2 separate regions of the Homo sapiens genome follow, and region 1 is linked to region 2. Evidence: promoter capture Hi-C in human tissues and cell types (Jung and others, 2019). All regions are on one chromosome and are shown on one strand. The core of a region is centred on a gene start or on the middle of the fragment in contact, and the rest is flanking DNA. Distances in the headings are between cores, read along the strand shown. Region 1 overlaps UEVLD (UEV and lactate/malate dehyrogenase domains). Region 2 holds the start of IGSF22 (immunoglobulin superfamily member 22).

What was found. Contacts are between HindIII fragments. The study calls those that stand out against the background at their distance.
Region 1: a contact is called between a fragment that was not itself captured here and the fragment with the promoter of IGSF22 in region 2, in 1 of the 25 tissues and cell types used here (lymphoblastoid cells).

What each region holds. Positions count from the first base shown.
Region 1 is chr11:18,561,891-18,567,948 of GRCh38, forward strand. It overlaps UEVLD (UEV and lactate/malate dehyrogenase domains), which reads right to left. Exons shown (of 12, transcript NM_001040697.4): 5 at 4,457-4,592; 6 at 3,002-3,120. Among named protein-coding and RNA genes, the nearest start is that of UEVLD, 24 kb to the right of the region's middle. The HindIII fragment of the contact is 5,839 bases long and covers 1-5,570 here.
Region 2 is chr11:18,722,532-18,728,814 of GRCh38, forward strand. It overlaps IGSF22 (immunoglobulin superfamily member 22), which reads right to left and starts at 3,657. Exons shown (of 23, transcript NM_173588.4): 1 at 3,543-3,657; 2 at 1,597-1,738. The coding sequence starts at 1,705. All of the region lies in intron 2 of IGSF22-AS1 (IGSF22 antisense RNA 1), which reads left to right. It overlaps PTPN5 (protein tyrosine phosphatase non-receptor type 5), which reads right to left. Exons shown (of 15, transcript NM_006906.2): 15 at 5,397-6,283. The HindIII fragment of the contact is 11,359 bases long and covers 1-6,283 here.

The DNA.
Region 1 (6,058 bases), core at 1,401-3,900, 160 kb before region 2:
TCCATCTCAAGAAAAAAAAAAGAGTCAAGTGTTTAGACAAGTGCCTGGTACCTAATAAGCATTGTGTAAAGGTTAGTTGCTGCTGCTACCACCACTACTTTTGTTGCCACTATTATGAGTACTATCACTGTTGCAGTCATAATAGTGGCCTATGAATATTGTACTTTGTATCAAAATATTAACGTCTAAAAAGAAAAACAGAATTTTTTTTTGAGACAGGGTCTCACTGTGTCGCCCAGGCTAGAGTGCAACTGCACAATCGCAGCTCACTGCAGCCTCAACCTCCCAGGCTCAAGCAATCCTCAGCCACCCAAGTTGCTGGGACTACCAGTGTGCACCACCACACCTAGCTAATTTTTAATTTTTGTAGGGTGGAGGCAGTGGCTGACACCTGTAATCCCAGCACTTTGGGAGGCTGAGGCAGGCAGATCACCTGATGTCAAGAGCTCGAGACCAGCCTGGCCAACATAGCGAAACCCCCTCTCTACTAAAAATACAAAAATTAGCTGGGTGTAGTGGCACACGCCTGTAATCCCAGCTACTCGGGAGGCTGAGGTAGGAGAATCACTTGAACCCGGGAGATGGAGGTTGCAGTGAGCTGAGATCATGCTACTGCACTCCAGCCTGGGAGACACAGCGAGACTCCATCTCCAAAGAAAAAAAAAAAAATTTTTTTTGTAGAAATGGGGATCTCGCTGTGTCGCCCAGGCTGGTCTCAAACTCCTGGGCTCAACTGATTCTCCTGCCTTGGCCTCCCAAAGTGCTGGGAGTACAGGTGTAAGCCACCGGGCCCAGCTGAAAAACGGCAAATTTTCCACCCAGACAATTCACAGACAAATAATGACAGTGAGATTCTTCTAACAGTTTAAAAACATGGCCAGGAGCAGTGACTCATGCCTGTAATCCCAGCACTTTGGGAGGCCAAGGCAGGAAGATAGTCTGAACCAGGAGTTCAAGACCAATCTAGGCAACACAGGGAGACCTATCTCTACAAAAAAACTAAAAATTACCTAGGTGTAGTGGCACACCCCTGTGGTCCCAGCTACTCAGGAGGCTGAGGTGGGAAGATCTCTTAAGCCCAGGAGATAGAGACCGCAGTAAGCCATGATCATACCAGTGCATGCCAACTTGGGCTACAGAGAGAAACCTGGTCTCAAAAACAAAAATGAAAAACCATGACTTTCAGACTTTCAGATGCCTTCTTGTGCTTACCAAAAAAAAAAAAAGACAAATAATTACAAATAAATAAAACTTAGTACTGTTAGGGATGTCAAAAATCAGGTTGATGTGCATGTTATTAGCAGCATAAATTAGTTCTGCCTTTCCAAAGAGCAATCTGGCACTATGTCATAAGTGCTATAAAAACCATTCATGCCCTCTGACTCACTAGTACTATTTTTTAAAATTATGTACAACCAGGCCGGGTGCAGTGGGGCATGCTTGTACTCCCAGCACTTTGGGAGGCTGAGGCAGGAAGATTGCTTGAGCCCAGGAATTCAAGACCAGCCTGGGCAACATGGTGAAACTCTGTCTCTACAAAAAAATACAAGAATTAGTGGGGATGGTTGCTGGCGCCTGTAAGCCCAGCTACTTGGGAGGCTAAGGTGGGAGGATGGCTTGAGCTGGGGAGGTGGAGGGTGCAGTAAGCTGAGATTGCACCACTGCATTCCAGCCTGTGCAACAGAACATGACCCTGTCTAAATAAAATAAAATAATGTATGACCAAATAAAAATTCAGATGAGAAAACAAGCAACTTGAAATGTTTATAGAAGCATTTATTTAGTGACAAAAGACTGAATACAACTCAAATTCTAATTAAGAGGTAATAGCAGGCCAGGTACGGTGGCTCACACTTGTAATCCCAGCACTTTGGGAGGCCAGGGCAGGTGGATCACTTGAGGTCAGAAGTTCGAGACCAGCCTGGCCAACATGGCAAAACCCTGTCTCTGCTAAAAATACAAAAATTAGCTGGGCGTCGTGGCGCATGCCTGTAGTCCCAGCTACTCTGGAGGCTGAGGCAGGAGAATCGCTTGAACCCAGGAGGCGGAGGCTGTAGTGAGCCAAGATTGTACCACTACACTCCAGCCTGGGTAACAGAGCGAGACTCCACCTAAAAAAAAAAAAAAAAAAAAAGAGGTGATAGTGTATTCAAATGGAGGGTGAAAGAAATAAAACTACAGCATGCCAAAAGTTGGCATATTTAACTCTGAGCAGCCAGCTTTTAAGATATTCTAGCTCCATGGATATAATTTAATTATTTGCTGCAGTAGAACCCACCTCCAAGACATATGTGAGTCTTAAATGGAAAGGGAAGAATTTAGATGGCAAAACAATCAAATATATATAGAAAAGAAAAACTAATGCCAGCCACCAAATAAATATATAGAGGTACAGCTATTCTATTCAGGGCTACATCTCTCAAATGACAAAAGACATGCTGTTATCATGATACTAGGCTCTGGAGGGAGGCAGGCAGGTCTTTTGAACCTCTCTGGAAGGGCATTTAAGCTTTCCTGCAAACAATTTATGCAGACACTAGTAAAAAGGACTGATGAAAAAAACAAACCCTAAACTAGTATTAAATATCAACTCAGAAACTGTGATCCTAAAAGAAAGTAATTATGTAAGAAAAGGCCATCTTTAAAAAAAAAAAAGCCAATTTTAGAAAGAGCTAAAATTACTACATTAAATGAGTTTAATTAAAGTGGCATGATTCAGAAAATACAAAAGAATTTGTGATTAAGTCATATGAATGTCAAATTGAGCTTTCCCTTGGATGAGGATAAGCCCATTGTTCAAATCACTTTTTTAAACCTACTAATTAAAAGGCAACATCACTGATGAAAGCTTTCAACTTTTTTGTCAACTTACTAAATATATTTTAAGCCAAAATAAGGTTTTCCCACGACAAAATGAAGGCATTTTTTGGTGTGTAAAACACAACCTGCCTAGAAGTGTGGCACTATGATAGATGTATTTATAACCACTATGTTTACATACCTTTGCTGAAATTGCTAATGTGCAGGCAATACCGAGTTCTCCACCTCCAACCACAGTAATTTTATTGACTGTTTTATTCTCATGATTTGCCCAGCTCTTTGAATTTGTATCTGAAACACCTAGAAAGAAAGGTGAATTATCCTGAGAATTCAAAAATATCAAGAATTTTTTTAGGATCTTTAAAAAAAATATATAGCAGGCTTCATAGCTTAGAGAGAAAATATGGTGCTAGTCCATAATGGGCAAAAAATACTACTGAACAAATGAATGCAAGGAAGGCAGACGTTTCCTATTAAATAGTCGACTAAATAGAAATTATCCTTCTAAAGAGAATGTATCTTTCTAAACATTTTTAAAATATTGTATAAGACTCTAAAAAAGTAGGATTTCCATAATTCTGAAAAATATTCCAACTCATTGCTCTGGTCTACAATAAAAAAATATGTCTAACACCTTACCAAATGTTTCAAACATAGGTATTTGCCTTTATTCTTGATGAGAATCATAGATATTCTGATCCAATATATTGAATAAGCCAACAAGCCACATATACATATCATGAAAAAAAGTTTGGGATCATTAATATACAGCAAGTGGTTTTGAACAAGAATTGTTTTATCTGTTTAAGACCAATTCTTTACACTTTAAGAAACCTGGCCAGGCCCGGTGGCTCATGCCTGTAATCCCTGAACTTTGGGAAGCCAAGGCGGGAGGATCACCTGAGGTCAGGAGTTCAAAACCAGCCTGGCCAACATGGCAAAACCTCATTCTTATCAAAAATACAAAAATTGGCTGGGCATGCCTGTAGTCCCAGCAACATGGGAGGATGAAGCAGGGGAATCGCTTGAACCCAGGAGGCAGAGGTTGCATGAGCCCATATGGTACCACTGCACTCCAGCCTGGGTGACACAGCGAGACTCCATCTCAAAAAAATAAAAAAATAAATAATATTTATTGGAATTACATGGTAATACCCTGTGATAAAGGCAAAGGAATTACTTTTTTTTTCTTTTTTTTTTTTTTTTGAGATGGAGTCTTGCTCTGTTGCCCAGGCTGGAGTGCAGTTGTTCAATCTCAGCTCACTGCAACCTCTGCCTCCCGGATTCAAGCAATTTTCCCACCTCAGCCACCCAAGTAGCTGGGATTACAGGCACCTGCCACCACGCCCAGCTACTTTTTTTATTTTTAGTAGAGATAGGGTTTCACCATGTTGGCCAAGCTGGTCTCCAACTCCTGACCTCAGGTGATCTGCCTGCCTCAGCCTCCCAAAGTCCTGGGATTACAGGAGTGAGCCACTGCGCCTGGCCTGAGGCACAGGAATTTCTTATTTCAAAAACAGATGTACATACGCACACAAATTTATTTATAAAAATCAAGTGGCAGAAAGTAAAGGAGTTTAGTGAGAAACTGGTAACTCATAACTCTCAAGATAATCTGCCTGACAAATATACAAACCTTCAGTGATTTTTGCAATATAGGCTAGCAAGTCTACCTGCCGTGCCTCATCAGATGATGATAGAGAATACATGGGAAGTTCCTCTTGAAACTTGGCAATCATTTCTTTAATTAATCCAACAATGACAGATTTAGGCTGTAGAATACACAAAAAACAGAAAAGTTACACAAAAATTTTGCTGAAGAATACTACCTTTGTTGAGGCAGGAGTATTACTTGAGCCCAGGAGTTTCAGATGCAGTGAGTTATGGTTGCACCACTATACTCCAGCTTGGGCAACAGAATGAGACTTCATCTCCAAACAAAACAAACAAAAAATCTTTTTTAACCTATACATTCTTTTAGAGTTAGTCAAAAAGAAGCATTCAATCATGTTCTCATTTTTCAAAAATCATCATACACATTATATGATACTTTTAACTGTTGTAATGCTTTTCATGAAAAATTACTGAATACTTTTAACTGAAAAATAAAGGAAGAAGAAATGCTAATTCAACATTTCCCAAAAGTAGAAAAATAGCATGAATATGCTTAATAGCCGAATACCTAGGTTTAGGAACTCTCCTTTTTTTAACTTTTCATTTTGAAATAATTTCAGACTTACAGAAAAGTTGCAAAAATAGTACATATACTCTTCACCTAGATTACTCAAATGTTAACATTTGATCACATTTGCTTGTTTAGTCTTTCTCTCTCTAGTTTTTCTGAACAAACTGAACAAGTAAACTGCAAACATGATGTCCTTTTACCCCTAAGTACTTTAATGTATATTTCCTAAAAGAAAAAGACATTCTCCTTTTAACCGTTATCAAATCAGAAAATTAACACTAATAGTATCTAATCTGGTACTGTATTCTTTTAATGTAATTGGTTAAGCAACCTTGATGAAATTCACTAACCTTTCTGAGCTTCAGTGTCATCAGTAATACAAAGTGAATAATAAATCCCAAATGGTTGTTATGAGCAATAAATGAGTCAATGAATGCAAACTATACGCCGTGAGTGTAAAACAGATGTTTATTATTATTCCTGGGAATATTTAGTAGTATGCTCATTTAAAAAGTGCTTAATTTCTCAGAGTCTGAGTTTCACTATTTATAAAGTAAGAAGAGGCTATTAGGGCCAAGAATTCAAATACCTTTGGGGACCAAGCAGGTAACGTTAAATGTGTGAAGCTGGCAAGTACAAGAAAATCTGGAGAGACGGTTATTGTGGCAAATTGGAAACAGCATGCCAATAGGCATTCAAATTTACATTAAGAACAAAACAAAACAAGGTAAAACAAAACGAACTGTGCTGTTCAAACAAATTCCATAGGCCTAACGCGGCCCTCTGAATCTCTCAGAGAAATTGCAAACCCTGGCCTAGATGACCTCTAGATTCCTTCTAGCTCCAAAGTTCTATAAAATTATGCTACATAATTATAATTCCAACTGCATGTGGAACTTAAAGGTGCTGCAGTACTTTTAAATAGGGCAATTTAAATAATGTAATGTCTTTTTAAGACTAGTTTTAAGTGGGGGCACTGTGGCTCACACTTGTAATCCCATCACTTTGGGAGGCTGAGGTGGGAGGATGCCTTGATCCCAGGAGTTCAATACC
Region 2 (6,283 bases), core at 2,407-4,906:
CACAGTCCCACTCCAGTGGAGCTATATATGGGAATATCCTTATCTGAAAGCACATCTTCAATGTGGAAATATAATTTTATATTTGGAAAACAAAAAAAACTGTTTTTGCAGTATAAAACTACAGACAATCTTCTTGGCTGGTGAGTTATCAATTCACAACAATTGCTCTGAATCATGGAACACTTTCCTTGAGTCAGGAACTGTGCTAGGCACATATCAGAGATGATTTTATTCCATCTTCACAGCATCCCACTGAAGTAGGTGCCTTTATTATCCCACTAATCTGACAGAGGGGGAAAAGTGTGTTAAGAAGCTCTCATGGCCTGCTTTTAAATACTAACAAGAGGTCTCAAACAGGCAGAGTGCAGTGGACACCTGGCCTGCAGATGTCTTTTATGTGACCTCCACAATGTTTAAACAAAAAAGTAGCCCTACATCTGAAAGAGAAAGATTTCACATAAAAATTCAGATTTCTGGATTCTCAACACTGAACCTGTATTCCCATATGGCAACAGTCAGTGGGAGGTGAATAGTGGCTGCCCCTTTAGATGGGATATACAGTCTCTAGTTTACCCCAGTCTTTTCCCCACATTTATGTTCCCTGCCTGGGCCCTGTTGGTCAGTGGTCTACAGCTTTGGCTGCACATATATAATCCATGGAGAACTTTATAAGAAATACCTGATTGAATGGTCTGGGGTGAGACTCAGGTACTGCCATATTTTTGCCCTCCTCACACCCCCTGCACTAAGGTGACTCTGATGTGCGGCCACAGCAGAGAATCACTGCTGTAAATCACTTGAGTTTGGAACTTCTGGTCTAGACCATAGGCCTTGAGTCCCAGCTGTTCCACTTGCTCTGCCTCACTGGCCAGGAGGTGTTGGTTGGTATAGAGTGTTTATCTGGCCTTGACCTCTGTGCACGGAGGACTTTGAGGGACTCTATCCCTTTGAGGCTTTGAGGGAGGGGCAATGACTGTGAGAAGGGGTATCCAATGTCTTGGCCCCCGGCCATCTTTTAATCTCTTTCCACTAGAGACGTGACTAAAACACTCTGTTCAGCTCTGAGACCATTTCTCAGCTTTCCCTTGGATCTGCCCTCTTCCAAGTCTGGCCCCAGAGGGCTAAAAGCCTGGAAGGTAAGGTCACCTTCTTGTTTATGTGTTCACCTTCTTTCTCCACTGGTAGCCCCAAGTCTCCTATTTCTTAAGTGGAGCAGGGTCAGCATTACTGATATGTAGATAAGGTGGCTACCTTCCTAATTTCCCCTATGCCTGAAATTCTACCTTTGGAGATAGAATCTGTTCACCTATGGCTCTGATCTCCTTCAGCAATTAAGAGTTTATCAATCATTCACACACATCCACATGATTGATCTTTTCTAAGCTGTTTTCCTGGAGATCTGATCTGTGTTGAACATCCAGCTGGCTGAAGCTTTAACAAAGCCAAGATTAGAAGCACACGTTGGGTGGGGGTTGCTGTTGGTATTGTGGGCTCCAGAGGGGCCCATTAGTGGCAAAACTGGGGCCACCCAAGGGATGGGTGTGGAGGAAGAATAGCTGCCCTTCCCGATCCCTTCCCTGCCCCCATTCCACTTGCCTCCCACGATCTTGGTTGTCTGGGAGAAGGTCTGCACGTGGGTGGTGGAGCTGGAGAACTCCATGGACACGTGCTCCTGCAGCATCTGCCGGCTGTGAATGGTTGTCATGGTGACAGCAGGCGTGGGCACTCACCTGTGAGACTGGGGAAGAGGATGAGGCCATGAAGGACAAGACAGGGAGTAGGAGGGAGATTCAGAGATGTTATGTGTGTGTTCAGACATAAGAGGAGATGGAAGCACACAGGAGAGGGCCAGGAGAGCAGTCGAGCTCTCTTTTCTTCATTTCCTAGCTTCCTTTTCCTGGTTAGTTACCAGACCCAATAGGCCTGTCCTCTCACTGAGTAACTCCAAACTATTCCAGGGTCTCAGAGGGAGAGGTTATAGGGCTTAGACTTACCCAGCCAACCAAGTAAGGCCTGGAGGGAGTTGAGGATACCTATTGATAGCTACATGGCACTAAGGAGGCAGTGCTGGATGTTTCATCAGGAGGGAATGCAGTCAGACCTAAGAAAGAACTTCCTGACTAAGCCATACTGGAGTGGGCTTTAGAAGGAAGCTGTGTCTCTTATTCCTGGGCCCTGGGGACCCCGGCACTGGTGGAATGCTAAAACAGATGACAAAACATCACTACAATTCTGCTTGTGTTTGCGACATGGTAAAGGCAAAGGTTTAGTTTTTCTTACATTTTTCTTTGAACTGGTAATTCAATCACATAGTTAAAGAATAAAACAATATAAAAATCCATATGGACAGGCTCCCTCCCACTCCTGCGTCTATCTTACAACCTTCCCCATTGCAACAGGTAGCCAGTCTCTAGGCTCCTTCTAGACCTCCATCATGCAAATAGGAAAACTCATGTGTTCTTATCATCTTCCTTTTTTTTTTTTAATTAAAAAAGCACATAAGGTAGCCCATTATACACACTATTCTGACCCTTTCTTTTTTCATTTAATGTGTCTTGGAGATTTTTTCCATACCAGATGATAGCGTTTCCTCATTCCTGTTCAGAGCACCATGTTTTCTCAATGTTTTATTTAACCAGCATTGCGGTTTTTTTTGGGTGATCTCGGCTCATTGCAACCTCCTCCTCTCGAATTCAAGCCATTCTCCTGCCTCAGCCTCCCCAGCAGCTGGGTTTACAGGCACGTGCCACCATGCCCAGCTAATTTTTGTGTTTTCAGTAGAGACAGGGTTTCATCTTGTTGGCCAGGCTGGTCTCAAACTCCTAGCCTCGATTGATCCGCCTGCCTTGGCCTCCCAAAGTGCTGGGATTATAGGTGTGAGCCACTGCATGTGGCCAGCATTGCAGTTTTTTTGTTTTTGTTTTTTTGAGACAGAGTCTTGCTCTGTTGCCCAGGCTGGAGTGCAGTGGCACGATCTTGGCCCACGACAACCTCTGCCTCCCAGGTTCAAGCAATTCTCCTGCCTCAGGCTCCCGAGTAGCTGGGACTACAGGCACCCGCCATCACACCCGGCTAATTTTTTGTATTTTTAGTACAGATGGCGTTTCACTATGTTGGCCAGGCTAGTCTCGAATACCTGACCTCGTGATCCGCCCACCTCAGCCTCCCAAAGTGCTAGGATTACAGGCGTGAGCCACCGCGCCTGGCCCAGCATTGCAGTTTTTAAAGTCCTATTTCGTATATGAGGAAACTGATGTCTGAAAGAAATGACCTGTCCAAGGTCACTCAGACTAGACTCCTAGCTTTTGACTCCAGTCCAGTGGCGTCCCAGAGGGCTCCAAAGCCTTCTTTAACCCAGGTAGTTAGGGGTTAAACTCTATTCCCTCTCTCCACCCCCTAATATATCTCTGCCTGGGCTGCTTCTACCTTTGGGTTCTGAGACTACTCCCCTGTTCCTATTCCTGCCCTCTACCCTATAGTCCCCTCTGGGCTCAGAAGGTGGTCAGCTTTGTCCCCTTCCTGAGGGAGGAGGGGAGCCTTACCTTCAGCACTGACCAGTCCCTCCCAACACTCGAATGCTGTGTCCACGGCTTTGGAGGCTCAGCTAGTGCCTGGACTGTAGGGTGGCCCGTCTCCTTCTTCCTTTGCCCCAACAGTGAGGCTACCAGTGTCATCTGTTCCTTAAATGTCTGGCCCCCTGGGGGCGATTCCTTAGTCAGGCTCTGCAGCTGTCTCAGCTAGATGGCACACTGCTTGGTTGTGGGGGGAGGGGGAGGGCGGTGGAGAAGGGAGGCGGGAAGCAAAGCTGGATCCAGGCTGGGGGAAACACTGAAGGCCAGGCGGGAAGGAGGCTGAGGGTGGCAGTCCAGGGGTACTTTTTTTGTTCCCTTGTGGTACAGGTTTTGGCTCTCACTGCTGCTGGGTAGGACCTCTCTGAGCTGAGGGGCTCAGGGTAGTGTGTGTGCACAGGCACACACTCAGGTACAGGTGCATGCATAGTCCAGCAGGGCTCAGGGAGCAAAGCAACAGGTCTGTATTTTCCAGGGACTGGGACACGGTGAACTGGGGAGGGCCTCTGGGATCTGCTGCGTTGCTACACAAATCCAGGGGTTCCCATTCATGTTGCACTCCTATGTGTGGTTCATACACAGCCTGAGTATCTTTACAAGGCCACCCTGGGGAAGAACAGGGAAATGTTAGGTCTCCTTCCTCTTCCCACTTCAACAGCCCAATCTCCCTAATCTGGGTAGAAGAGTAGGAGGGCCCATCCTCCGGGGGTTGTGGGGAGGTCTCTGCTTGAGGGTGACTGGAGAGTATGGCCACCTCTTCTCAAGGACTTCCATCTGGGCTGCTTCAGCCACCTGTTGTTTTCTTTTCTTTTCTTTTTTTTGAGATGGAGTCTCTGTCACCCAGACTGGATGCAGTGGCACGATCTTGGCTCACTGCAACCTCTGCCTCCCAGGTTCAAGCGATTCTCCTGCCTCAGCCTCCTGAGTATCTGGGATTACAGGCGTGCACCGCTACGCCCGGCTAATTTTTGTATTTTTAGTAGAGATGGGGTTTCACCATGTTGGTCAGGCTGGTCTCGAACTCCTGACCTCATGATCTGCCACCCCTCGGCCTCCCAATGTGCTGGGATTACAGGCGTGAGCCACCGTGTCCAGCCCACCCTGTTGTTTTCTCATCATCTGTAGCACACCCCGCATGCCTGGACCCTGGATCCCACCCAAGGTTCTGGCACCTTGTAAGGACTTGTTGGTCAGCACCCTTGCCCTGGACCCCTCCTTCTGCCCTGGGGTGACCCCCACCTGCCAGCAGTGGCATCATGGCTACTTTTGCTCCATCCCAGGGGGGCAGGGGACAAGAATAGAGCAGGAGTGTCCAGGATGGCTCAGGATCTCAGCCCACATGCAGATTCCCTGGGCCCCTTGGGAGGAGCTACTCTGAGCCCAGGCCTTACAAGGGAAATTACTGGGCTGCAGCTGCTGTTGGGATCTGTGGAGCTAACATGGGATAAGAGTTTGGCCAACAGGGAGGGGCCTGGGTGTGACCTGAATGTCTCCTTACCCTAGCCTTGGCTTCTCTGGCACATCTGTTGGAAATGGTGACCTGCCAGCCACTGTGCCTTCCCTGGAAGCCTTCCACACCTGTCCTTGAGGCTCCCCATGGCCCAGAGCATGTGTCAGGGCCAGGGCTGAGGCTGTGTGAGAATCCTGCAGAATGTTCCCAGTTTGGCTTTACAAATTTGGACTCGCTCCATACTCCCAGTCTCCACAAGGGGCTCCAGTGAGCAGAAGGGCCAAGCTCACTGTGCTCATGCTGGGGAGGGGCACAAAGACCCAAGTACAGGAAGGAAGGCAGTGGAGGGGAGAGGCAAATCACACAGACCCAGGAGGTTAGTTTTGCTCAAAATGCTCCGTTTATTGCTCTATTCAATGACCACGAGCGAATTATAAAAAGACACCAAATGTCTCTGTCTGCCGTGGGATAAATATTTAAAGTCAGCAATAAAAACACGTGGCTCCAAGATAATACATGTTGCCAAAGAGTCATGCATGCCCTCCTGATGGGCTCTCAACACACGCATGGACATGGGAACACACGCAGAGCAACACGCAGTGAGACTTCTGGGAAGGCTTTCCCACAGTGACACAGAAAAATGTCTCACGTAGATCTGGGCTGAGTCCCCACCCAAACCTTGAGCTCCCCTCCCCTCCCCAACAGGGCCTAGATCCTCTGGGTTCTCCATGCCCCATCTGCCCCCTACCTTGCCAGTGCCTCACAGGCTGGGCACCCTCCTGAGAGCATCTGACACCCAGAGGCCACCCTGGCTGTGATGCCCACTCCAACCTAGAGAACTCTCCCTCAGCTGAAAGCTCTCTGGTGACCTTCTGGAGCTCCCCATGCCTAACTCCCCGTCATCTGCCTTTTGGGAGAAGTGCGGGTGAGGCCGAGGCAGGCAAGTCCGGTTGCTTAGGGGCTGGAGCTCATTACCCCTTCCTGGCTGAGGAGACACAGTGTCCGGTACAGAGGGCAGAGATGGATGGACAGACAGAACACATTGCAGCAGGACACAAAGTGTAGCACGGAAACATTCTGGATCAGGTATTGATGGAACCATCGTTAAAAACTGGAGCCCGGGGTCTGCGTGGTGTGGGTCAGGCCCCGGGGCCCCAGGCCTGGCCTGGCATGTCCCTTCCCGACCCTGCCCCCCACTCCCCAATATGTACAGTAGGAAGAGCAATGCTGGAGGGTAGGGGTCAGGCCAGGCTGACAGAGGACA